Regions from separate parts of the Homo sapiens genome. Here all the other regions are linked to region 4. Evidence: promoter capture Hi-C in 16 types of primary human blood cells and fetal thymus (Javierre and others, 2016). All regions are on one chromosome and are shown on one strand. The core of a region is centred on a gene start or on the middle of the fragment in contact, and the rest is flanking DNA. Distances in the headings are between cores, read along the strand shown.

Region 1 (5,675 bases), core at 2,118-4,617, 340 kb before region 4:
CATGATATCCATAATAGATGTCACCTTAAATTTACTTCCTTTTGACTCTCTTCTGAGTCTACTCTTTTATGAGTAAATTTGAATGATGGCGGCACAGGTAAAAGCACACCCAAGAATTCATTATTCAGAGGTGCTCTCCGCTCCTTTTCCAGAGACCACAGCTCTGCCAGCAACGGCCACTGGCCACTCTGAACTAAAAAGGACTTGGTCATCTTCAGTCATCGTCTCAGCGAGGTTATGACTGGCATGTCTTTAAAGTAGCCGCTAAACCTGATTTTATTAACAAGATAGCTAAATAATTTTTTTTTTTGAGACAGAGTCTCGCTCTGTCACCCAGGCTGGAGTGCAGTGGCCGGATCTCAGCTCACTGCAAGCTCTGCTTCCTGCTTCCCGGGTTCACGCCATTCTCCTGCCTCAGCCTCCTGAGCAGCTGGGACTACAGGCGCCCGTCACTATGCCGGGGTCATTTTTTTGTATTTTTTGTAGAGACGGGGTTTCACCATGTTAGCCAAGATGGTCTCGATCTCCTGACCTCGTGATCCACCTGCCTCGGCCTCCCAAAGTGCTGGGATTACAGGCGTGAGCCACCGCGCCCAGCCCTAAATAGAATTTTTAAAACATTTCCTTTTGTTAAGATTTCTACTCCATCTTGCCAGGCGCAGTAGCTCACGCCTATAATCCCAGCACTTTGGGAGGCCCACGCAGGCGGATCACGAGGTCAGGAGATCGAGACCATCCTGGCTAACATGGTGAAACCCCGTCTCTACTAAAAATACAAAAAAATTAGCCGGGCGTGGTGGCGGGCGCCTGTAGTCCCAGCTACTCAGGAGGCTGAGGCAGGAGAATAGTGTGAACCCAGGAGGCGGAGCTTGCAGTGAGCTGAGATAGCACCACTGCACTCCAGCCTGGGCTACAGACTCCCCCTCAAGAAAAAAAATATATATTCTACTCCAACTTTATTTTATTTATGTATTTATTTGAGATGGAGTCTTGCTCTGTCGCCCAGGCTGGAGTGCAGTGGCATGATCTCGGCTCAATGCAAGCTCCGCCTCCTGGGTTCATGCCATTCTCCTGCCTCAGCCTCCCGAGTAACTGGGACTGCAGGCGCCCGCCACCACGCCCGGCTAATTTTTTTGTATTTTCAGTAGAGACGGGGTTTCATCGTGTTAGCCAGGATAGTCTCAATCTCCTGACTTTGTGATCCGCCCATCTCGGCCTCCCAAGGTGCTAGGATTACAGGTGTGAGCCACTGCGCCCGGCCTACTCCATCTTTGTTATGCAGGTACAGCAGAAAATCTTGAACAAAGGATCACCAAGGAGAACCAGCAGAACCAGAAGGTCTCCAGCCCATTTGTTATTCCAATTAACAATAATTTTGTCTTGGGGGGGGGGGGGTGAGCCTTGCATTGTTTTGCTTAAATGTATCAAATTTTTACAGGTAACTGCAGTTTATAAATGAAGATCCAGCACAATGTAATTCTAGCACATTTCTAGTTTTAAAAACAACCTTTGGCCGGATGCGGTGGCTGACGCCTGTAATCCCAGCACTTTGGGAGGCCGAGGCGGGCAGATCACCTGAGGTCAGGAGTTTGAGATTAGCCTGGCCAGCATGGTGAAGCTCCGTCTCTACTAAAAATACAAAAAAAGCCGGGCGCAGTGGCTCACGCCTGTAATCCCAGCACTTTGGGAGGCCGAGCGGGCAGATCACGAGGTCATAAGATCAAGACCATCCTGGCTAAGATGATGAAACTCCGTCTCTACTAAAAATACAAAAAAAAAAAAAAATTAGCCGTGCCTGGTGGCCGGTGCCTGTAGTCCCAGCTACTCGGGAGGCTGAGGCAGGAGAATAGCTCGATCTCGGGAGGCACAAGTTGCAGTGAGCCGAGATCGCGCTACTGCACTCCAGTTTGGGCGACAGAGCAAGACTCTGTCTCAAAAAAAAAAAAAAAAAAAAAAAAAAAGAAAGAAAAGAATAAAGAGAAAGAATCAGCAGATCATGAACACTTGACACTGATTTTTGGGGGGTGTTTTTTGGTCTCCAACTCCTGACTTCAGGTGATCCGCGTGCGTCGGCCTCCCAAAGTGCGGGGACTACACGCGTGAGCCACCGTGCCTGGCCCACGTGACACTGTTAAAAACGGAAAAAAAAGGGGGACTGTTAATTTTCCCAAGTTGCTCAGGAAAGTTATAGCTGGACTGCGAGAAGAGAAGCGAAACACTGTTTTCATTTAAAGTTCACGTAGGTAACTTTGGAGGTAAAAAAGCCATTTCAACTTTCTTACTATCAAAGTTGACACATACCAAATTTTAACTGTAAGTCAAGTGGTCAGTTTCTCAGTTTGCTATGTGACTGAACAAAAAACTTGTTATCAAGCAGGAATAAACTTTCATTAGACATACGCTACGCAAGAGTCACAGGCGGCCAGTTAGCAGGGAATATAAACTAGCAGAGCCAAACCAAGTCCACGTTGTATTCCAGAAACTACCGGTTGGAGGCGTTCCAGGGAGGAAGAGAGGATCTTTCGCAAAAAAAAAAAAAGAAGAAGAAGTAGCAAACACACAAATCCATGGCATTAAAAAAAGAGACCGCTTTGTTATTTACAACATCGTGGTATGCCGTGATTGTGTTGCGCGCCGTTTCCAGGGAAGGTGGCCAACGACGCACACGAAATACCATGATCGGCCGCCGCCGCGCAGCCCCTCGCCGCGGACGCTACCCTCGCCCCCCGGGCCCGGCCTCGGAGAGCTCGAAGGACCACCGGACAGCGGGCGCCTCGTCCCGGAACCTGCCTTCCCTGTGATGCCCACCCGCGTGTGGACTACGCGCGCTGCCGTCCAGCTGCCATCCCAACCAGCCGACCCACGAGCGCGGCCCGGCCCGGCTTCCTCTCAGGGGTCCTGGCGCGGGCCAGGGGGAACCGGGGAGGAGGGAGGGCCGGTCGCCGGAGCAGAGCGCGCGGGGACAGGGTGGAGCCCAACTACCTGAGGATGTTGTGCGCCTCCATGCTCCGGTTCTGGTTGCTCGAGCACACCACCGCCACCCGCAGCGGGGACGACGGCATGGCGGCGGCCGCAAATCCCGCGGCTCTCCCGCTTGGGTTCCCACCCTACCGCGGCGCTTCCGCGCGAACAAAATGGCGGCCGCGGTGGCCGGAAGCGGGCGACGCGAAACGACGGCGCCGGCGGTGTAGCGTGCGGCGACTGCGCGGCGGCCTCCCCGCCCACCCTGGGCGCCGGGCCGCGGACGGAGCGCAGGCACTGGCCTTCGGGCGCGCTGCACTCGGCGAGGCCGGGGGCGGCCAACGCCGCGCCGGCCCCCGGCGTCCGCAGCAGAGACCCGCACTCCACAAGGCCCGGCTGAGCGTCACGGCGCCAAGCGGCGGCGTCCTGACATCAGCACCCCGCGCCGGCGCCTAGTGTGACGCGACGACGTGCGGAACAACAGGACGTCATAAGGTGTCGCCGCCGCCTTTGGGAGCGATGCGAAACGCCGCGCTTGCCGGAGATAGCATTGAGGGCCCTTCCGCGGCCCGGCGTTTCGTCTCTTGGGACGATTTTGTGCGTTCCCTCGGTCCCCGTGGGGCCCATAGTCCTCACTTCTGCCACCCCAGAGTCGTCGCGCTTCACTAGACCCGCTCCCTCCACTGTCCCGGAGGCCCACAGACATTCCCGCATTCTGAGGCTCGCTCCCGTCCCGTGCCGCTGTTACCGGCCTCCGGCCCCGGCTCATACAAGCAGGAGCACATCGCTCTTTTATGAAAGCCCTTCAACATTTAACGTTTAAATGCGAGGGCCGACCTGTGACAGACCTGGTTGGGAGTGCACGTCGACTAGGATCTTCCTCGCCTCGGGCTTCCTTGGAGAGGCCGCCGGCTGGTCTGAGATTTGGGTCCAGTTACAGTAAATCCAGTCAACGCGAGTGTGTCATTCCCCAGCTATGCCTGTCTGCCTGGATGCAGCCTCGCGGTGGACAGTGGGCTGATGTTTTGCCGTGGGAGCGCCACGGACGGGAGAGGGAGTGATAATGATTGTCAACCTAATAACAGGCTAACTGAAAATGATATTTATTTGGGAATAGGGCGTTGGCGAATATGCGTGCCATAGTAAACGATTTGCGCATTCAGGAAAGTAATGGTTTTTAAAGAAAAAATGAAGAGGAAGATAATGGTTTGGAAATAATTAACCTTGGCTACAAAGAACAGTAACAAGTGTACTCCCGGCCGGGCGCGGTGGCTCACGCCTGTAATCCCAGCACTTTGGGAGGCCGAGGCGGGCGGATCACGAGGTCGGGAGATCCAGACCGTCCTGCCTAACCCGGTGAAACCCCGTCTCTACTAAAAATACAAAAAATTAGCCGGGCGTGGTGGCGGGCGCCTGTAGTCCCAGCTACTCGGGAGGCTGAGGCAGGAGAATGGCGTGAACCCGGGAGGCGGAGCTTGTAGTGAGCCGAGATCGCGCCACTGCCCTCCAGCCTGGGCGACAGAGCCAGACTCCGTCTAAAAAAAAAAAAAAACAAGTGTACTCCCGTTCCAGGGTTGGACAGGCAGTTGCTGGGCAGCTGTCCTTGCTGAAGTATTTTTTGTGTAAGATTGCCTTAGTGCAAGGTTGTGGTTTTTGCAGAATCTTGTGATAGTTTTTCTTATTATTGATTCATGAGAATTCTCCATGGCCTTTCCCAGCTGTCTTTGTCAAGGTATTTTTTAAACATAAGTGAGTCCACTTTTATTTGACAACTTGGGTATTTTCCCCTTTTGATTGAGATCTTTCTCCAAATGCATCACTAATGAGTCATCCTGTAATTAGGTTTTGATAGTCCCCGTGCTGGGATGAACTTGTCCCAGATAGCTGGTCTGGTCCCACACTGGAGAGAGTGGCTGCTGGGAGTCATTGTCAAAACCCTTTTTTACCATATTTGAGCATCAAAGGAGGTTTGAAGGGTGTGGCTCTCAGGCTAAGTCTAACCTGGAGTCCATTATTAACTTCAACTTTTGTCACTTCTGTAGTCTTTCTATCATCTCAAAGTGCTGTGTCAGCATTATTCTGTTAGAAATTGTACTTGTAGCCGGGCGCGGTGGCTCACGTCCGTAATCCCAGCACTTTGGGAGGCCGAGGCGGGTGGAACACGAGGTCAAGAGATCGAGACCATCCTGGCCGACATGGTGAAACCCTGTCTCCACTACAAATACAAAAGTTAGCCGGATGTAGTGGTGCGCACTTGTAGTCCCAGCTACTCAGGAGGCTGAGGCAGGAGAATCACCTAAACCCAGGAGGCGGAGGTTGCTATGAGCTGAGATTGTGCCTATGCAGTTCACCCTGGCAACAGAGTGAGATTCCATCTCAAAAAAATAAAAAAAAAGAAATTGTCCTTTTGCAAAATATGGCAATGAATAAGTTTAAAAGGGGAAAATACAAGGTAAAATCAATAATAATATGACTATCCCAGTTTGCATATTGGTTTTGACCCATGAACCTAGGCTTAAAGGAAAGCAATTAAAAAGAAAAAAATTAGAAAACAAAAATAGAAAAATAGAGATTAAAGGAAGCCAATTGAATAAATAAAATGGCCATAGAAATTACACGAGACTTGTAACCATGTGCCTGTTTTCTTTCTGTGTGTAAATGGATCTCAGTGTTCCAGAGGAATTTACCCACATACAGCATATAGTATTGACATA
Region 2 (5,050 bases), core at 284-2,783, 280 kb after region 4:
CAAGGGGCCCCAGCCTGGAGGCCATAGGTTGGTGTTCAGGGAAAGGGTCAGCAGCAGGGCCTGGACTGGGAGGTCCCCCTCTCCCTGCATGAGTGGTTTTCTTCCGCACACCTTCCTGCTCTAGATGCTGGAGGCCCCCAGCAGAACAAGATGGAGGCACCAACCCCCAGGCCCTTCGACTTGAGTGAGCAGATGGAGATGCAGCGCTGAGTGCTGCCCGGGCAGGGGGAGGGGGCCTGGGGGAGCTGCTGCAGGCCGTGTGGTCTCAGGGGGCCCTGTGGGAGGTAGCCTGTGGCTGGGCCTGCTCTCAGGCGAGAGAAGCCCAGCCGTGGGGTCTCTGCAGCCCCACGTCCACCACATGGCAGGTGCCAGCTGACCAAGCGCTCTCAGACAGCCAGTGTCCAGGGCTCCCCGACAGTCCTGGCTGCCCTGGCTTCAGCTCCGAGCTTCTGGGTCTTTCCTGGAAATGTCACCATGGTCTGCAGGAGGGCCTTGGGTACTTCCAGGAAGACTGGTCCCAGCCTCCCAAGACAGGAGAAAAGGCCAGGCCCAGCAGCCCATGCCTGCAATTCTAGGACTTGGGGAGGTCCAGGCAGGCAGATTGCTTGAGCCCAGGAGTTTGAGACCAGCCTGGGCAACATGGCAAGACCTTGTCTCTATAAATAAAAAATTAGCTGGGCATGGTGGCATGTGCCTGTGGTCCCACCTACTTGGGTGGCTAAGGTGGGAGGATCACCTGAGCCCAGGTAGGTGGGGGCTGCAGTGAGGCAAGATCGTGCCACTGCACTCCAGACCCCAACTCAAAAAAAAAAAAAAATAGGCCAGGTGTGGTGGCTCAAGCCTGCAATCCCAGCACTTTGGGAGGCCAAGTCGGGAGGATCACTTGAGGCCAGGAGTTTGAGACCAGCCTGGCCAACATGCAGAAACCCCATCTCTACTAAAAATACAAAAATTAGCCGGGCATGGTGGTGCACACCTTTAATCCCAACTACTTGGGTGGCTGAGGCACGAAAACCACCTGAGCCTAGGAGGCATAGGTTGTGGTGAGCCAAGATCGCACCACTGCACAACAGCTTGGGCATCACAGCAAGACTCTGTCTCGAAAAACAAAAAAAGACAGAGGAGAAAAGCCCTTGGTGACAAGTGTTTGCTCAGCTCTCTGTGCCGTGCTGGGGGTGGTGGGGGGTGTTCTTGCTCCTTCCTCTCCCTTCCCCACTCTGGCTCCCAACCCCAGGGTTCTGCTGTTGGACCCGGGGGTGGCTCCTGCCTCCTCCTCCTCTATGGCCCCCACATGGTCCAGTGCCCTCCTGCCATGGGACCGGCCGGCCTCTGGATGGGCTCCGAGCCCCCTGGGACCCATCTCCTTCCCTGCCTGGGTCCCTTGGGCAGAGCCTGGGAAACTCAGGCCCCTGCCCTGTCCTGGAGGACCATGTGAGGGACACCTGTGTGTGGCTGCTGCCCCAGAACAGGGGCCTTTCTGGGCGGGAGGACCCAGCCCCCACCCCTGGAAAGCCAAACACTAGAGCTTTGCTGGGGTCTTCAGCATCCTTCCAGCCCCTCCCGGCTCCCCCATGCAGGTGCCCTGGCCACTGGGCCCAAGAGGGGCAGAGCCGAGCAGAAGCAGGGCGGGGTCTCAAGTGACCCAGACCCGGGACACCTGCGCTGCCCGGCTGGCGCAGGCTGCTTGGGAAGCTCTCGCTGCGGGTGCCCCAAGGGTAGGAGGCACGGGCCTGCAGGGGACCTCAGGGCTGGCTGAGCCTGGCTCCAGCCCGCATCACTGAAGCTGGGGGGCCCCCATCCCCTTGAGTCTTAGCCACCCCAGTGGGCCTCATTTACCCTTGGCCACCAGGGAAGAGGAGCCAGGGCCCCAGGCCAGTGCCATGGGGCAGAAGGCAGGGCCTCTGGGCCTGGTGCTTTGGGGACGCAGAGGCAGCACAACGTGTCACAGTTGTCCTCCTGGGGGCTCTTCCCCTCCAGTTTATCTGCTGCTCTGGATTAATCTCCCCTCCTCCCATGTCACCACTGGGGAGGGGGCAGTGGGGCAGGCCCCTGTGACCTACAGCCAGAGATAAGTCCACAGAGAAAGGCACTGGGGTGACCTCTGCTCTGGGCACGTGGCGGGTGCCTCCACTTGTCAGGAAGCCTGACCCCCAATCCCCTCCCGCCTGACAGCTTCCCGACAGCTGCCTGCCAGCCGAGGGCCTGGAAGGGGACCGGCCACTCAAGACTCTCAAGACAAGGAAGCATGTTCACCTCCAACAAACATACCTTGTCCTGCCTGTCCTCAAGTTATCAGCATGACACAGCGGTGCTGGTGATGGTGATGGTGGAGGTTTCAAAGTTGAACCTGATGAAAACGCTCCACTTCTTCGGAGCCATCTGCTGCTGTGGTGACGGAGTTTTGCTTTATTGGAAAATAATTTCTGGTTGGGACTGACACGTGCACAGTGGAAATGAGTTTTTTCTAAGCCAAAATTCATGTTTACAAAAGAACGTTTCAGCTGTGGGAGTTTGCATCCCAGGCAGAGCAGAAGGTGATCGAGTGGGTGGGGGCATCAGAGCCACCCATCTCCTACTCCCGCACCTGCAGACCGGTGGGCTAGGAGGCCCCTTACCCTCTGTGGCAAAAAAGGACACATTTATGGATGATGAATCAGGCCCCAGCCCACTGAGCTGGTTTCAGAAGCCAGGCTGGCCGTAGGTCAGGGAGCCAGGCCTCTCCAACTCCTTCCACCGCGGAAGAACAAGTGTCCCAGCCACTGGCATCCTCAGAGTCACCCAAATGTTCATCTCTGCCCAGCGCTGACACCCTGCAAATCAGGCTAAGACAGCGGTGACGGGCCCTGAGGCTGGCAGGCCTAAGCAGCCCGGTGGCCGTGCACCCTCCCAATTTCCAAATGAGACCTGTGGCCGACAGGCACCCTGGGCACATGCTGAAGGCACTGGGCTGCCTCCACCCCTTCCCATGTGGCTAAATGGCCCAGCACCCACACACGGTGCCCTGGCAGTGCTCACCTGCTGGCAAGGACAGCCAAAAGGCCCGGGCAGCCTTCTGACGCAGCCAGGAACTGGGCTGTGCTCCACCACACCTGCTGGCCCGTGGATGCCAGGCAGGCACGCCCACCCATAGCCAGATGTGGTGGCATTTATGGGATACGGGAGTGCCAGGCAGACAGGCTGTGAGAGACAGTTGCCTGGGAAACATCGCCAGATCTTTGGGGCAGCAGAGCAGGTGCTCGGGCCCACACATGGGGTGCAAGAGTAGGGGTGTGCCTTGGTGCCCTTGGGCACCGACAGCCTCCTCACAGCCTCAGTGGCGGGGTCATGGCACAGGCCTGCCCCTGACCCCAAGAACCAGAAAGCCAGGAGCAGCTGGGGAGGGCCCTGGCCCGGGAGAGACAGCGGTCCTGTTTCTGAACCCCATCCCAGCCATGGCCTGTGTCTGGGCCAGCATCCCCGACCAGACAGGGCCAGCCGCCCTCTCTCAAAGTCCCCAGCACCCCTTCAAGCAGTATCCGGTTCACACCCTCCCACAGCCTGTCCTCCATCCCCACGTGTCGGGCTCAGCTTCCGCACCACTCAGCCCCCACCCAGGGGCGGGCTTTTATCAGCCCCAGATCCTGCTCTGACGTCCCCCCGCCCGGAGAAGCTTCCCCAGCCCAGCCCAGCCCAGCCCAGCCCAGGCTTCTCTCTCCACCCCACTGCCCTGCTGGGAAATTGTGAGCTCAGATGCTGATTGGTCTACCCAGGAGGGCGGTCCTGTGTGCTCTGTTCCCTGGGAAGCCTCTCAGAGTGCGCGGCACCAAGGAGCCGGTCAGGGAGTGGAGACCTCTCAGGGCACCCCTCCTCTGGGGAAGGCAAGTCACAGAAACCAAGCTGGAGGAGCACTGTGGGTTGAGCAGCGTCTCCGAAGACTCATGTCCACCAGTACCTGAGAAAGTGGCCTCGCTCGGAAGCAAGGTCTGTGCCGATATAATCAAACCAGGATGAGGCGATACTGGGTTAGGGTTGGCCCTGAATGCAGTGTGAGCAGTGTTCTTGTAAGAAAAGGAAAATTGTCCGGGTGCAGTGTCTCACGCCTGCAATCCCAGCACTTTGGGAGGCCGAGGCGGGCAGATCACTTGAGGTCAGGAGTTCTAGACCAGCCTGGCCAACATAGTGAAACCCCGTCTCTACTAAAAAACACAAAAATTAGCTGGGTGTGGTGGTGGGCGCCTGTAGTCTCAGCTACTCGGGAGGCTGAGGCAGGAGAATCGCTTGAACCCAGAAGGCAGAGGTTGCAGTGAGCCAAGATTGTGCCATTTTACTCCAGCCTGGGCAACAGAGCAAGACTCCGTCTCAAAAAAAAAAGAGAGAGAGAAAGAAAAGGAAAATTGGCCAGGTGCTGTGGCTCATGCCTGTAATTTCAGCACTTTGGGAGGCCGAGGCAGGTGGATCATGTGAGGTCAGGAGTTCGAGACCAGCCTGAAAGACATCGTGAAACCCCATCTCTACTAAAGATACAAAATTAGCTGGGTGTGGTGGTGGGCACCTGTAATCCCAGCTACTTAGGAGGCTGAGGCAGGAGAATCGCTTGAACCCAGGAGGCGGAGGTTGCGATAGGCCGAGATCGTGCTGTTGCACTCCAGCCTGGGCGACAAGAGCAAAACTCTATCTCAAAAAAAAAAAAAAAAAGGTAAGGAAAATTTGGACACAGAGACACAGGAAGGAGGCTTTGGGGTTGGGGGTGGAGCAGCTGCACGCCAGGGAATGCCGGGGGCCCGGGGCTGGAAGGGGCAGGCAGCAGCCACCCAGAGCCTTTAGGCGGAGCTCCACCCTCCCAACCACTGATTTTGGACACCAGCTGCCTGAACTGTGAGAATATACATGTCACTCGTTTTAGGCTCCCAGTGTGTGGTCATTTTTTCACAGCAGCCCCAGGAGACACGCAGCAGGCTCCCGGCTTTCCAAGCCGCCACGCACCAAGTTCAGCTTGAAAACGCTGAGCCCAGCTGGGTGCGGGGAGCCCTCGGTCTCCTGTCCACCACACCCGGAGCTGAGGAAGAGGCTC
Region 3 (5,523 bases), core at 1,875-4,374, 320 kb before region 4:
AGTCTGTGCCAGTGACCACGAGCTCAGATGCAGACGCCCCTCCCTGGCAGGGACGCCCACTCCCAGGCCAAGGCTTGTCCCCTGGGCCTTGCAGGCTGCTCAAGCCACTTCTGCAAACCCTCAGCTGGACTCCATGCCTCTGAGAAGCCCCCAGAACTGGCAGGACAGGCCTGTGGCTATAGCCCGTGTGAGCCTAAGCTCACAAACAAGCCGGAATCCCACCGCAGGCCAGGGAGCCTCCGAAACTTCCCGGCTGCTCCCCAAGGAGCCGTGCTGCCCCAGCTCCCTGGACGCTGCCTTTGCTGGTAGAAGACATGGAAACACCCTTGCAGGTGACCAGGGCAGAAGGTGGCTGGAACGGGAAGCCCCCCACTCCCACCAGGCTGTCTACACACATCGCTGCACACCCCCTCTAGGGATGAGTCACTCCTCAGAGCTGGGCTCCTCCTCCCCCTCCCCCTCCGCCCCCCCCCCCCCCGCCTGTTTTTGCTTCCTCAGGGTCACCCCTGGCTGCAAGTGCCTCAAGGACAGCCTGGAAGAGCCTGTGGGGGAGGGAGGGTGGCATTCAGCACAGGATACACACAGGAGCCCCAGGCTGTCCTCTGCCCACCGTCCCCACCCCAGCTCTAGCTCTGCCAGGGAGGCCCAGGCAGGGAGGTGAGCCCCTCCGGAGCAGCCTAATTGCCACTGTCACAGCTCAAGTGTGTCGCCGTGGGAATGGGCTATTTCTAAGCACGGCAGGTACCGTCTTCCCCTTCCCCCGCCAACACAGCTGGCCCAGGACAAGAAGGTGCAGAGACAAACAGGGGGCACCCTGCCTGTCCTGCTAGGAACTGCAAGGCAGCGTGCCGCACACGCTGCCTGGGCCAATGCCACCCAGGCCAGGAGAGGGTTTGGGGCCAGACACCAGCCCATACCCAAGGGTCCCAGGGGATGTGGGGAGAAGGGGAATCCACCTTTTCCTTCCCTCCCACCTCCCAAATAACACACAGACAGCTCTGTTGGTCTGAGAATGATGGACATTTAGACACTGGCGCCAGGTTTGCGCCTGACCGGCGCCACGCAGGGGTGGGCGGAGCAAAGACACACAGGTGGGCTACAGGTGTCACACGGCACCAGCCAGGGCCCGGGGTGGCTGGGGTGAGGATGGGTGTTTGGCCAGTGACCAGGAGTCAGGTCAAGTCCAGGTGGTCAGTGCCAGGGGCTCCAGGAGGGGAGGGCAGTGCCATAACCCTCCTGGTGTCCAGCGTCACCAGGCGGTCGTCACAGAAAGCAACCTCGGCCCGGGGCCCGGGTCTGCAGCAGGTGGGCAGGGTCAGCTTTTCTTCCATGGCGGGTGGCATTGTCTGGGCCGGATACTGGCTCTCGACCCCTGGGCATGCAAAGGCTAGGGGTGGTGCTGTCAGTCACACCGTTGCCACCAAGGTCCCCTGGGTCGGCTGAGGCTTGGGATCCAGGCAGCGGTGGAAGGTCGGGCTGCTCAAGGCCGGTATCTAAGCTTCTGCCCTGGGACCCAGTGGTGATGGCCGCCATCTGCCCCATTCCCACAGGGACCTAGTCAGAGGTCGCACACACAAAAGGGGTACCTGGCCCTGGAGAACCACCAGCTGCCCGGGGTCTGAGAACACTCACCCTGGCCGCTGGGCCAGGCCTGCCAGGCTCCCGGCTGGTCCAACACCCTAAACGGTACAGAGCGCTGCAGGCCCTCACCTCATGCTTCTGCAGCGCTTGAGGGTGAAGGTGTCTCCAAGGGGACGCTGGCCAGATGCATGGAGAGGCCGGCCAATCTTAGGGCCACAGACCCCCCCTGGACAGCAGAGGGTGTTGGCTCCTGCAGTGGGCCCGAGATACTAAGGCACGAAGCTAACCTAAGCCCAGTGGGGTGGGGCGGGGCAGGACAGGCTTGGAGAGCTGCGCCCCAGGCCTGCAAAGCACAGTGACCGAGCAATGGCGACGGTCTGTCTGGGACAATTCGGCACAGGATGGAGGTGCGGGGTGAGCCGGAGTGCCCATGGCTCTTGCTGGAAGGGGCTCCATGCCCTGGCCGCCTCTATAAAGGCCTGCGGAGAGCGGGGAGAGCCCTGGATGCGGCTGGCACAGCAGCGCAAGCCCAGGGGCCAATCCGGGGCCAGAGTCTGGGAGTCTGACGCCCGGCTGGAAAGGGCGTGTGATGATGCCAAAGTGCCGGAGCCGTCGCCGGCAGGTCCTCCTCCGCGGGGATCTTAAGGAGGCAGCAGGAATGAGGAGAGGAGAGCGGGCGGAGGACCTGGGAGCTCAGGCGCCCTCAGGCAGGTGGCGCAAAGATGGGCGGGCGGCCTCGCGCTTCAGGGGTGTCTGCGCAGGCCGGGGCGCGCGAGGGCCGGGCGCATGAGGTTCTCGGTGATGTAGGCCACCAGCAGGCAGATGACCACCAGCATGACGCAGATGGAGCCGCCCACCGCCGTCATGGCCACCACGATGTCCTGCATGCCGGCCGGCTCGGCGGTGAACTCCACGCACTCGGCCGGCTCGGGGGTCTCTGGCGCGGCGGCGGCGGGCCCAGCGCGCAGCGGCAGCGGCTGCAGGCACAGGCGGTAGAGGACGCTGTCGTGCACGTCGGGCAGCAGGTAGTCGCGGCAGGAGGCCCCGAGGAGCACGCGCTCGCACGGGAAGCGCGTGTAGGCGCCGCGCCACGAGCAGTTGAGCGCGAAGGCGCGCACGCGGCGCGCGGCGGCCGGGGCCAGGCGCCACTGCAGGAGGACGCTGCGGTTGCGCAGGACGCTGGCGCGCAGGGAGCGGCCGGCCGGGGCGTGCAGCACGCAGCCCGGAGCCTGGCAGCGGAAGCCGCGCGCGGGGCTGCGGAAGCACAGGCGCCCGCCGCCCGCCTCGGGGCCCTCGGGCAGCACCTTGTAGGGGCACCAGGGCGCGTCGGGGGTCGGCTCCCAGCCCGGCGGCGTCGGGGCGGCCGCGGCGCAGGGCGGCGGCGCGCAGGCGGCCAGCAGCAGCAGCAGCGGCGGGGCGCGCATCCTGCGGCGGGGCCACGGGGCGCGGCGCTGGGTCACGCGGGCCGCGCCGCCGCCGTCCCCGCTGCCCGCTCCCCGCGATCCCCGGCGCGCCGCGCCCTCCGCCGCCGCCCGCTCCGACCCGCCCCCGCGCCCCGTGCGCGCTCGGACCCGGCGCGGCGGCGGAGGCGGGGCCGCCCCTCGCCCCGCCCCCCTTAACCCTCGCCGGGCCGCGGCCTACGGGTGCGGGGGATCGGGGGTGGGGGGGAGGAGGGGGACGCAGCGAGGCGGCCGGAGTGCCGGTGGGGCTGGGGTGCGGGCAGGGGCGCGGGGTGCGGGCAGGGCCGCCGCTCTCCCGGCTTCCCGCCTAGTGAGCGCACCTTGGACCCCTGCGGCTTTTCCGAGCCGAAACTCACGGGCTGTGGCCGGCTTCGTTTCGCGTCGTGCAGCTCCGCGACCGCCCGTGGCCACACCAGTCGGGGACTTCGTGCTTTACGATGGGGGCGCAGCGGTCTGGCACGCGCAGGACCCCGGGCCTTGCACCCCAACGCTGGCCGCCCTGGACCCGCGGCGGGGACCCGCGCAGTCAGGGTACCTGCCCATACCGATGGGGTGGGGACCAGCACGGAGACTTTCCTTCACCCCGCGGCTTCTGTTCCTTTCAGGACGGACAGCGCCCACCCGGAGGAAAGCCTGACAGATGAGACTTCGCAAGGTGAGAACTCCCTTCGCTCCACACGCAGCGGAGGCAGCTGCAGGGCGCCGACCTTCCCTGCCTCATTGCGCCCCCTCCTCCTCCAGATGCGCTCTGGGGGGCCCTCCCGATGGCTGTGGGGAGGTCAGGGCTGGACAAAGGGAATCCAAAAAGCCCACCCGGTGCACTGAGTAGGTGGCACCGACGGGGGAGGGGAAGGCGGGACACACCCCAAGACCCCTGCCCCTCATTCCCGTCCCTGCATAGATCACCCAGCAACCAGGACACCCCTCCAGGGCCAGGACTACAGCCAGGGACTGTGTATGCAGACGTGGCCGGGCCTGGCCGGCCTGCCCTAACTGGAAAGGAGGCCAAGCCTCGCACCTAAGGCTGGGCTGGCACCTCCGCTGAGCCAGCTCTGGGTCTGCAGGGGTTGTGGGGGGCTCTCTGGCAACTGGACCATGAGTTCCTGCAACCCCTTCCTGTGCTCTCCTTGCCTGGGGGCAGAGTGAGGAGAGACTGGCTATTCTGCTCACGGTGTCCTTGGTCCCCGACCTCTGGATGGCCATGTCTCCGCCCCCCCACGGAGTCACCACCCAGCCTCACGAATTCCTGGTCATCTTGAAAAACCCAGTGCAGTGGTCAGGACCCCACAGGATCTCAGGGGCTCTGCCAGAGCCCCGGCCCAGCGGTCAGGCCCCCACCAACTGTGGTCACGGTGCACCTCCGTCCCCGGCATGGAGGGCCCTGACCCCCTACACCAGCCTGTTGGGCCCCTGGCAGGGTCTGCTGAGGCCTCTGCACCTGGCGCAGAGAGGTTGGGGGCAGAGACCTTGGGAGAGGCGCTCCCTGCCCCCTGCCCCCAGCTCCCACCTCTGCTTAGGAAGGGCAAACCCTGGGCTCTGACTCTTGCCCCAGCGTTGTGAGGCGACTCAGGGGCTGCCCCAGGGAAGCAGAGAGTGATGGTGACTCAGGGGACCCCCATGTCCTTGCCCAGAACTCCCCAGGGGTTCAGCCGACCTACTGCCACCAGTTCCCAGTGGAAGCCCCTCAGCCCCCAGGTGTGAGGGCATGGGCAGTGGGGCAGGGCAGGAGCCTGGATGATGGTATATGGGGTGGGGCGGCCCCCAACTATCTTGGCATGTTGGCCTGAGGACAGCTGGGGCCTTCACCCTGTGCCATGACCATTCCAGCTTCTTGTAGCAGCACCTGCATTTCCCTCTGGGCAGCCCCCTTTATCCATCCTCAGGTCATGGGGAGCTTGGGTGGGGCTGACACTCCCCTGCCTAGGAGTTGGCAGATGACCTGGGCGCGGCCAGCCAGACTGGACCCCTTAGCCTCGAGGCCTTTGCTGAAGCTCATGTGAGGGGGCGACTGCCCCTGACAGGTGTTGGATTCCAGCTGCTGTGGCCCTGAAGGTGGGTGGTGGGAAGAACGGGAGAATGAAGCCAGCCTTGGGAGAGGTAGGACGCCAGCCCGGCCCAGCTGCTTCCAGCATCTGGATCCAGCCTCACCTGAAGCCAGCCACCTCCTGGACTGCAAAGTCATTGTCAACACCGAAACACAGGGTTTCTGACCATTGCAACCCAGGGTCCCGGCGTGTCGTGGCTGCAGACCCTGCAGACCCCTATGAAGATGGTCCTGCCTGCCTTGCATCGGGCCTCTAGCTAGGGACTGTGGTTGCAGACGTAGTTCTGGGACTGAGCTCCTGGTGAGAGGCCAGTGGTGAGGGAAGAGAGACCAGCAGAGAAAAGAGTGGAGCCTCGGGCTGCTAGCAGAGTGGCAGAAACCGAGCCTGCGAGAGGAAAACATTGTTTCCCGCGGCCTCCTGCTGAGCCATGGGGACCC
Region 4 (5,401 bases), core at 1,809-4,308:
GTGCAGTGGCACGATCTCGGCTCACTGCAAGCTCTGCCTCCTTGGGGTTCACGCCATTCTCCTGCCTCAGTCTCCCAAGTAGCTGGGACTACAGGCGCGCACCACCATGCCCAGCTAATTTTTTTATTTTTATTTTTAGTAGAGACGGCATTTCACCATGTTAGCCAGGATGGTCTCGATCTCCTGACCTTGTGATCTCCCTGCCTCGGTCCCCCAAAGTGCTGGGATTACAGGCATGAGCCACCATGCCCGGCCTACTGATTTAAATACTAATCACATCTATGAAACACCTTCATGCCCGCCCATATTCATTGCAGCAGCAGTTCCAACAGCCAAGAGGTGGGAGCACCTAAGTGTTCATCAGCAGATGGTGGATAAACCGAGTGTGGTCCATCCCGAGAATAACATTTTACTCAGCCTTAAAAAAGACGCCTATTCCAGGCCGAGTGCGGTGGCTCATGCCTGTAATCTCAGCACTTTGTGAGGCCCAGGTGGGCGGATCACAAGGTAAGGAGATCGAGACGATCCTGGCTAACACGGTGAAACCCCGTCTCTAGTAAAAGTATAAAAAATTAGCCGGACTTGGTGGTGGGTGCCTGTAGTCCCAGCTACTCGGGAGGCTGAGGCAAGAGAATTGCTTGACCTGGGAGGCAGAGGTTGCAGTGAGCTGAGATCGCGCCACTGCACTCCAGCCTGGAGATAGAGCGGGACTCTGCCTCAAAAAAAAAAAAAAAAAAAAAGTCGAATTCTTTTTTTTTTTTTTGGAGATGGAGTCTCACTCTGTCACCCGGGCTGGGGTGCAGTGGCGCAATCTCGGCTCACTGCATCCTCCACCTCCCAGGTTCAAGCAATTCTCTGCCTCAGCCTCCTGAGTAGCTGGGATTACAGGCACCTGCCACCACGCCCGGCTAATTTTTTTATTTTTTTATTTTTTTTAGTAGAAACAGGGTGTAACCATCTTGGCCAGGCTGGTCTTGAACTCCTGACCTTGTGATCCACCCACCTCGGCCTCCCAAAGTGCTGGGATTACAGGCGTGAGCCACCACACCCGGCCCCCGGAGTCGAATTCTTAAAAACAGAAAGTAGAATAGTGATTGCCATAGGCTGGGGGGCGGGGGGTGGTGGAAGAGGGCAGATGCTGTTTAATGGGGGCGGGGGTCCGTTTTGCAAGGTGAAAGGTTCTAGAGATCTGCTGCATAACTGGGTACGGCCATGAACACAACTGCACTTGCACCTGAACGTGGCTGAGGCAGCATTCTAATTGTTACAGGGTTTTTCTCTTTTTCTGTTTTCTTTTCTTTTCTTTTTTTTTTTTGAGATGGAGTCTCGCTCTGTTGCCCAGGCTGGAGTGCAGTGGCGCGATCTCGCCTCACTGCAAGGTCTGCCTCCTGGGTTCACGCCATTCTCCTGCCTCAGCCTCCGGAGAAGCTGGGACTACAGGTGTCTACCACCACGCCTGGCTAATTTTTTTGTATTTTTTTTAGTACAGTCGGGGTTTCACTGTGTTAGCCAGGATGGTCTCGATCTCCTGACCTCGTGATCTGCCCGCCTCAGCCTCCCAAAGTGCTGGGATTACAGGCGTGAGCCACCGTGCCCAGCCTCTTTTTCTGTTTTCTTATGGAGAATAGCCCTTCGGTGATCAGAAGAGACACAAGAAGGAAAATAAAGATTGGATGAGTCTCAGGTCCTAGAGATACGGGGTATGTCCGAAGGCCACACAGAGGCTGGTCAGCATGAGGAGAGAGGGTTAGAGGGCGAGGACCTGTTCTGCTGCTTGTACTGGGTCTTGGATATGGGTAGAAGCCTAGATGGAGAGGAGAGAGGTTGATGGTGGTTGTGGCCATGTTGCCCCTTCCTACGGGCGGGGCGGGGGGTGTGCCCTCTGCTTTAAGTTGGGCTCCAGGGGTCACAGCTTTGAGTTTCACTCGTAAGCCCATCAGGATGTCTGGAACCTTCAGGGCTGTGGCCCAGGAATGTCAGACGCTGGAAGCCTGGGAACGGAGGAGGCAGAGCCTGCTGTCCACTGGCTGTGAGAGTTGTTGGGGTGGGGACTTGTCCAGGGCCACGAGGCCAGTGCAGTTCTCTGTGTCTCTGTACCCAGCTGGCCTGTACCTGGAGACCCTGAGCCAGAACCCAGGATGGGCCCTGGCCTGGGTGCTGCGGCTCCCTCCATTCTATGCCCCTGGGGGAAGGTGCTCAGTGCGTGAATTGTTCCCTGCCCCAGCCCAGGGGAAAGCTGAGGCCAGGGAGCAGCCAGGATGAAGGTCAGGGCCTCCCTTGGCCCCACCAGACCCAGGGCCGCTTCCCTCCAGCCCCGGCTCCCGTTTGGCTGGAGGTGCCCTGGGCCATTGGCCTGCCCTCGTCAGCGTCAATCTTGCAGTCTCAGCAGCTGGCCTGGGTTTCAGCGGGAGCCATCCTGTAGCTGCAGGTTTGCTGGCAGGCAGAGGGTTGGGCTGGCGGGGGACACTGAGTGCCCCACCTGCTCAGACTCTTCATGCCATCAAGGGGCCAGTCGGGGGGCAGGTGTGAGTGTGACCCTGAGGGCCCTGACCTGCCACTGCAATCCTCACACTCTTGCCTGGGTGGGGCAGGGAGGAGCTGGACCCTGGCTTTGGGAGTCTGGTGGGTAATTAGACCCAGACAGGGAGGGCTCAGTGCGGGTCTGAGGAGGGAACACACGTGTGCAGGCGTGTGCTCCACGGTGGCATGTTGATACGGACCAGCCTGGGCACCAGGCCCCCTCGGGAGCCAGCTTTGCTGTTCTGAGTGGAAGGGAGATCAGGTTTCCCTGAGAAACCCCAAAATAGCCCCCAACTGTGCCTGGCTTCCAGCGGGCAGCCCAGCCCCCAGGCCCTGTTTTGCTCCCTTTCCCCCTTCACCCCCAGCCCATGTCCTGCTGTCTCCTCCCTGAATGGTGGACCCTCAGCCCCTCCTGTACAAGATGGTCAAGCGGTGCCTCATGCATTTGTTCATTCGACCTGTCCTGAGAGTTTGTGACATGCTGGCACGGGGCCAATGTTGAGTCCACCAGGATGGGAGGGTGGCCAGGCTCTGAGCCACTGAGCACCAGCTGGCCAGGATGGGTCTTCAACAAGAAATCTCACTGGTAAGTGATGACAGCATGGGACCAGGGTCCCATGAAGACCTGCTGGAGGGCCGCACCTCTGGGAAGGTAGACTTGGAGCTTGGTCCAGTGAAGAGGGAACAGCACGGGGAACAGCGTGTGTGAGGGTCCCGCCATGTCTCAGCCCTTTCCTGGCCCCCGCACTTAGCCTTCGGTGCCCATCTTCAGGGTCAGGGGAAGCCCAGGCCAAAGCGGGCCGGGAAGGGGCCCTGTGGATAAGGCCGAGAGCCTGTCCCAAAATAGGGCCGGCAGGATTTCCCACCCATAAAAGGCTCTTGGAATCTGGACCCCGGGGACCCCAGGCAGCCAGGCCCAGCTAAAACTCAGCTGCCACCACTGCCCCAGCACTCTGCCCACAGCAGCCCTGGTGTCACCACCCTGCAGAATCCTGTCAGACAACCACCGACATGGTAAGGCTGCTCTCTGTGCCCGATGGAGTCTCTGGTGGGCTGGCTGGGTAGGTTGAGCTGGAACCTGGAGGTGCAATGACCTGCCACGGAGCCTGGGCAGGAAGGGGCTGAGGTAGAAGAGGGGGCCAAGCCCTGCTGCCACCAACACAGCCCTTGTTCCGGGGCCAGGGTGGAGCAGCCCTTTCTGAAAGCTGGCTCCCAGATGGGCAGCAGCAGTGGTGGCAGGCAGGTGTGGCCCGGTGCTGGACTCTCCCTCCGGAATGCCACACAGGCTGGAGCCCAGGGTTCTGCTTCCTGGGCTGTATCCCAATCCTGGGCTGGAAGCCTTTCCCGGGCCAGGGCTGGGCTCCTCCCCACCCTGCTCTCGGCTTCCTTCACCTGCCTCACCTGGTGTCCATTGCCAGGCTCCAGGGCCGCTGCCTGGCCCGCCTGGCCCTGCAGCTGCTGCTGTTCCCTCGCACGCTGGCTCCTGCCTGTCTGGCCCTTGCCCCTGTTAGCTGCCTGGCAGAGCCCTGCTGGCCCTGCAAACCCCTGGCGTGTGACCCCTTGTCCTGGAAGCCTGCTCTCCGCTGGGGGCCTCCTCTCTTACCACTCACCTTGAAAGGCTGCCAATGGAGGAATGGGTGCAGGGGGTACCTCTGACCCTTCCCTGGACACAGGGGCAGAAGGGGCTCCTGGTCAGGCCGGTGCGGGTGTCCCCTGCAGACAGAGCGCCTGTCGGCTGAGCAGATCAAGGAGTACAAGGGAGTCTTTGAGATGTTCGACGAAGAGGGCAACGGGGAGGTGAAGACGGGGGAGCTGGAGTGGCTCATGAGCCTGCTGGGTATCAACCCCACCAAGAGTGAGCTGGCCTCAATGGCCAAGGATGTGGACAGAGACAGTGAGCTCATGGCTGGAGTGGGGTGGGCAGCCTCGGGGGGGCCCTGGGTCAGGTGTCAGTGCCTACGGGGGGAAGAGGCAAAGCCCATGGGGAGTGCTGTGCCCCATCCCTTGAGCCCCAGCTGTGCCCCTTGCAGACAAAGGGTTCTTCAACTGCGATGGTTTCCTGGCACTAATGGGAGTTTACCATGAGAAGGCCCAGAACCAGGAGAGCGAGCTGAGGGCGGCATTCCGTGTCTTTGACAAAGAGGGCAAGGGCTACATTGACTGGAACACACTCAAGTAGGGCCCGGGTTGGGGGCGGGTGGTGGGCGGGCACGGGCAGGGCCGATGGAGTGGCTCAGCGCCAGGCCCCGTAGGTACGTGCTAATGAACGCAGGGGAGCCCCTCAACGAGGTGGAGGCGGAGCAGATGATGAAGGAGGCCGACAAGGATGGGGACAGGACCATCGACTATGAGGGTGAGTGGCCTGGAGCCCTGGGAGCCGTTGGCTGGGCCGGGGCAAGCTGCTGACCTGCCCCTCTGTTCCCAGAGTTTGTGGCCATGATGACGGGGGAGTCCTTCAAGCTGATCCAGTAGGTGCAGCTGCCGCAGCCGGGGGAGGCCTGCCCGGGAAGGCTGCTGCCCCTGCCCCCTGGCCCCCACTCCCCCGGCTCCGTGTAAAATAAATGTTCCAGCCCAACCTGTGTGTGCCTCACTGTCCCAGCCTGGGTTGGGGGGCAACAGGCAAAGGCGTGGGGCTGGAGAAGGAAAAGAGTTTTCCTGGCCCAGTCACAGAAACAGCCCCAGTCATTTCTGCCACGACACCTGACACCACCCATTGCCCAGCTCAGGGCTAGGAATGCCAGCCTGAAACCTGGACTGGGTACAGGCCGGGGACCACACGCTCGCCCTTCCTGCTTGCACTGGGGGTTGGCTGCCCAAGGGTTCCTCCCAGAGCCCTGGAGTCCCAGAGTCCTTCCCACATAGGCAGAGACCACTTAAATAC

What was found. Contacts are between HindIII fragments. The CHiCAGO score rates a contact against its expected background, and 5 or more counts as called.
Region 1: the fragment with the promoter of SSU72 here is called in contact with the fragment with the promoter of CALML6 in region 4 in 1 of 17 cell types (neutrophils); the score reaches 9.9 in neutrophils.
Region 2: a fragment that was not itself captured here is called in contact with the fragment with the promoter of CALML6 in region 4 in 3 of 17 cell types (erythroblasts, fetal thymus and endothelial precursors); the score reaches 8.4 in erythroblasts.
Region 3: the fragment with the promoter of FNDC10 here is called in contact with the fragment with the promoter of CALML6 in region 4 in 1 of 17 cell types (neutrophils); the score reaches 5.5 in neutrophils.

Annotation. Positions count from the first base shown.
Region 1 is chr1:1,571,496-1,577,170 of GRCh38, forward strand. SSU72 (SSU72 homolog, RNA polymerase II CTD phosphatase) reads right to left here and starts at 3,368. Exons shown (of 5, transcript NM_014188.3): 1 at 2,983-3,368. The coding sequence starts at 3,062. It overlaps SSU72-AS1 (SSU72 antisense RNA 1), which reads left to right and starts at 3,452. Exons shown (of 1, transcript NR_197593.1): 1 at 3,452-5,576. RefSeq lists silencers at 2,852-2,931, 3,172-3,331, 4,991-5,160 and enhancers at 3,452-3,561, 3,572-3,641, 5,559-5,675. The HindIII fragment of the contact is 11,232 bases long and covers 1-5,675 here.
Region 2 is chr1:2,195,739-2,200,788 of GRCh38, forward strand. It overlaps a transcript of FAAP20 not described here. Among named protein-coding and RNA genes, the nearest start is that of FAAP20, 3.5 kb to the left of the region's middle. RefSeq lists enhancers at 2-668, 3,290-3,887. The HindIII fragment of the contact is 4,227 bases long and covers 1-3,647 here.
Region 3 is chr1:1,597,011-1,602,533 of GRCh38, forward strand. FNDC10 (fibronectin type III domain containing 10) reads right to left here and starts at 3,125. Exons shown (of 1, transcript NM_001242659.2): 1 at 1,002-3,125. The coding sequence starts at 3,005. The coding sequence ends at 2,325. It overlaps LOC105378586 (a long non-coding RNA gene), which reads left to right and starts at 2,423. Exons shown (of 3, transcript NR_147951.1): 1 at 2,423-2,606; 2 at 3,647-3,696. RefSeq lists silencers at 454-503, 2,732-2,851, 3,152-3,201, 4,615-4,757 and enhancers at 1,620-2,278, 2,279-2,938, 2,939-3,598, 3,599-4,258. The HindIII fragment of the contact is 12,096 bases long and covers 1,497-5,523 here.
Region 4 is chr1:1,912,202-1,917,602 of GRCh38, forward strand. CALML6 (calmodulin like 6) reads left to right here and starts at 3,059. Exons shown (of 6, transcript NM_138705.4): 1 at 3,059-3,106; 2 at 3,484-3,534; 3 at 4,240-4,414; 4 at 4,551-4,695; 5 at 4,773-4,873; 6 at 4,946-5,095. The coding sequence starts at 3,080. The coding sequence ends at 4,992. TMEM52 (transmembrane protein 52) reads right to left here. Exons shown (of 5, transcript NM_178545.4): 5 at 5,390-5,401. RefSeq lists an enhancer at 1,880-2,566. The HindIII fragment of the contact is 9,795 bases long and covers 1-5,401 here.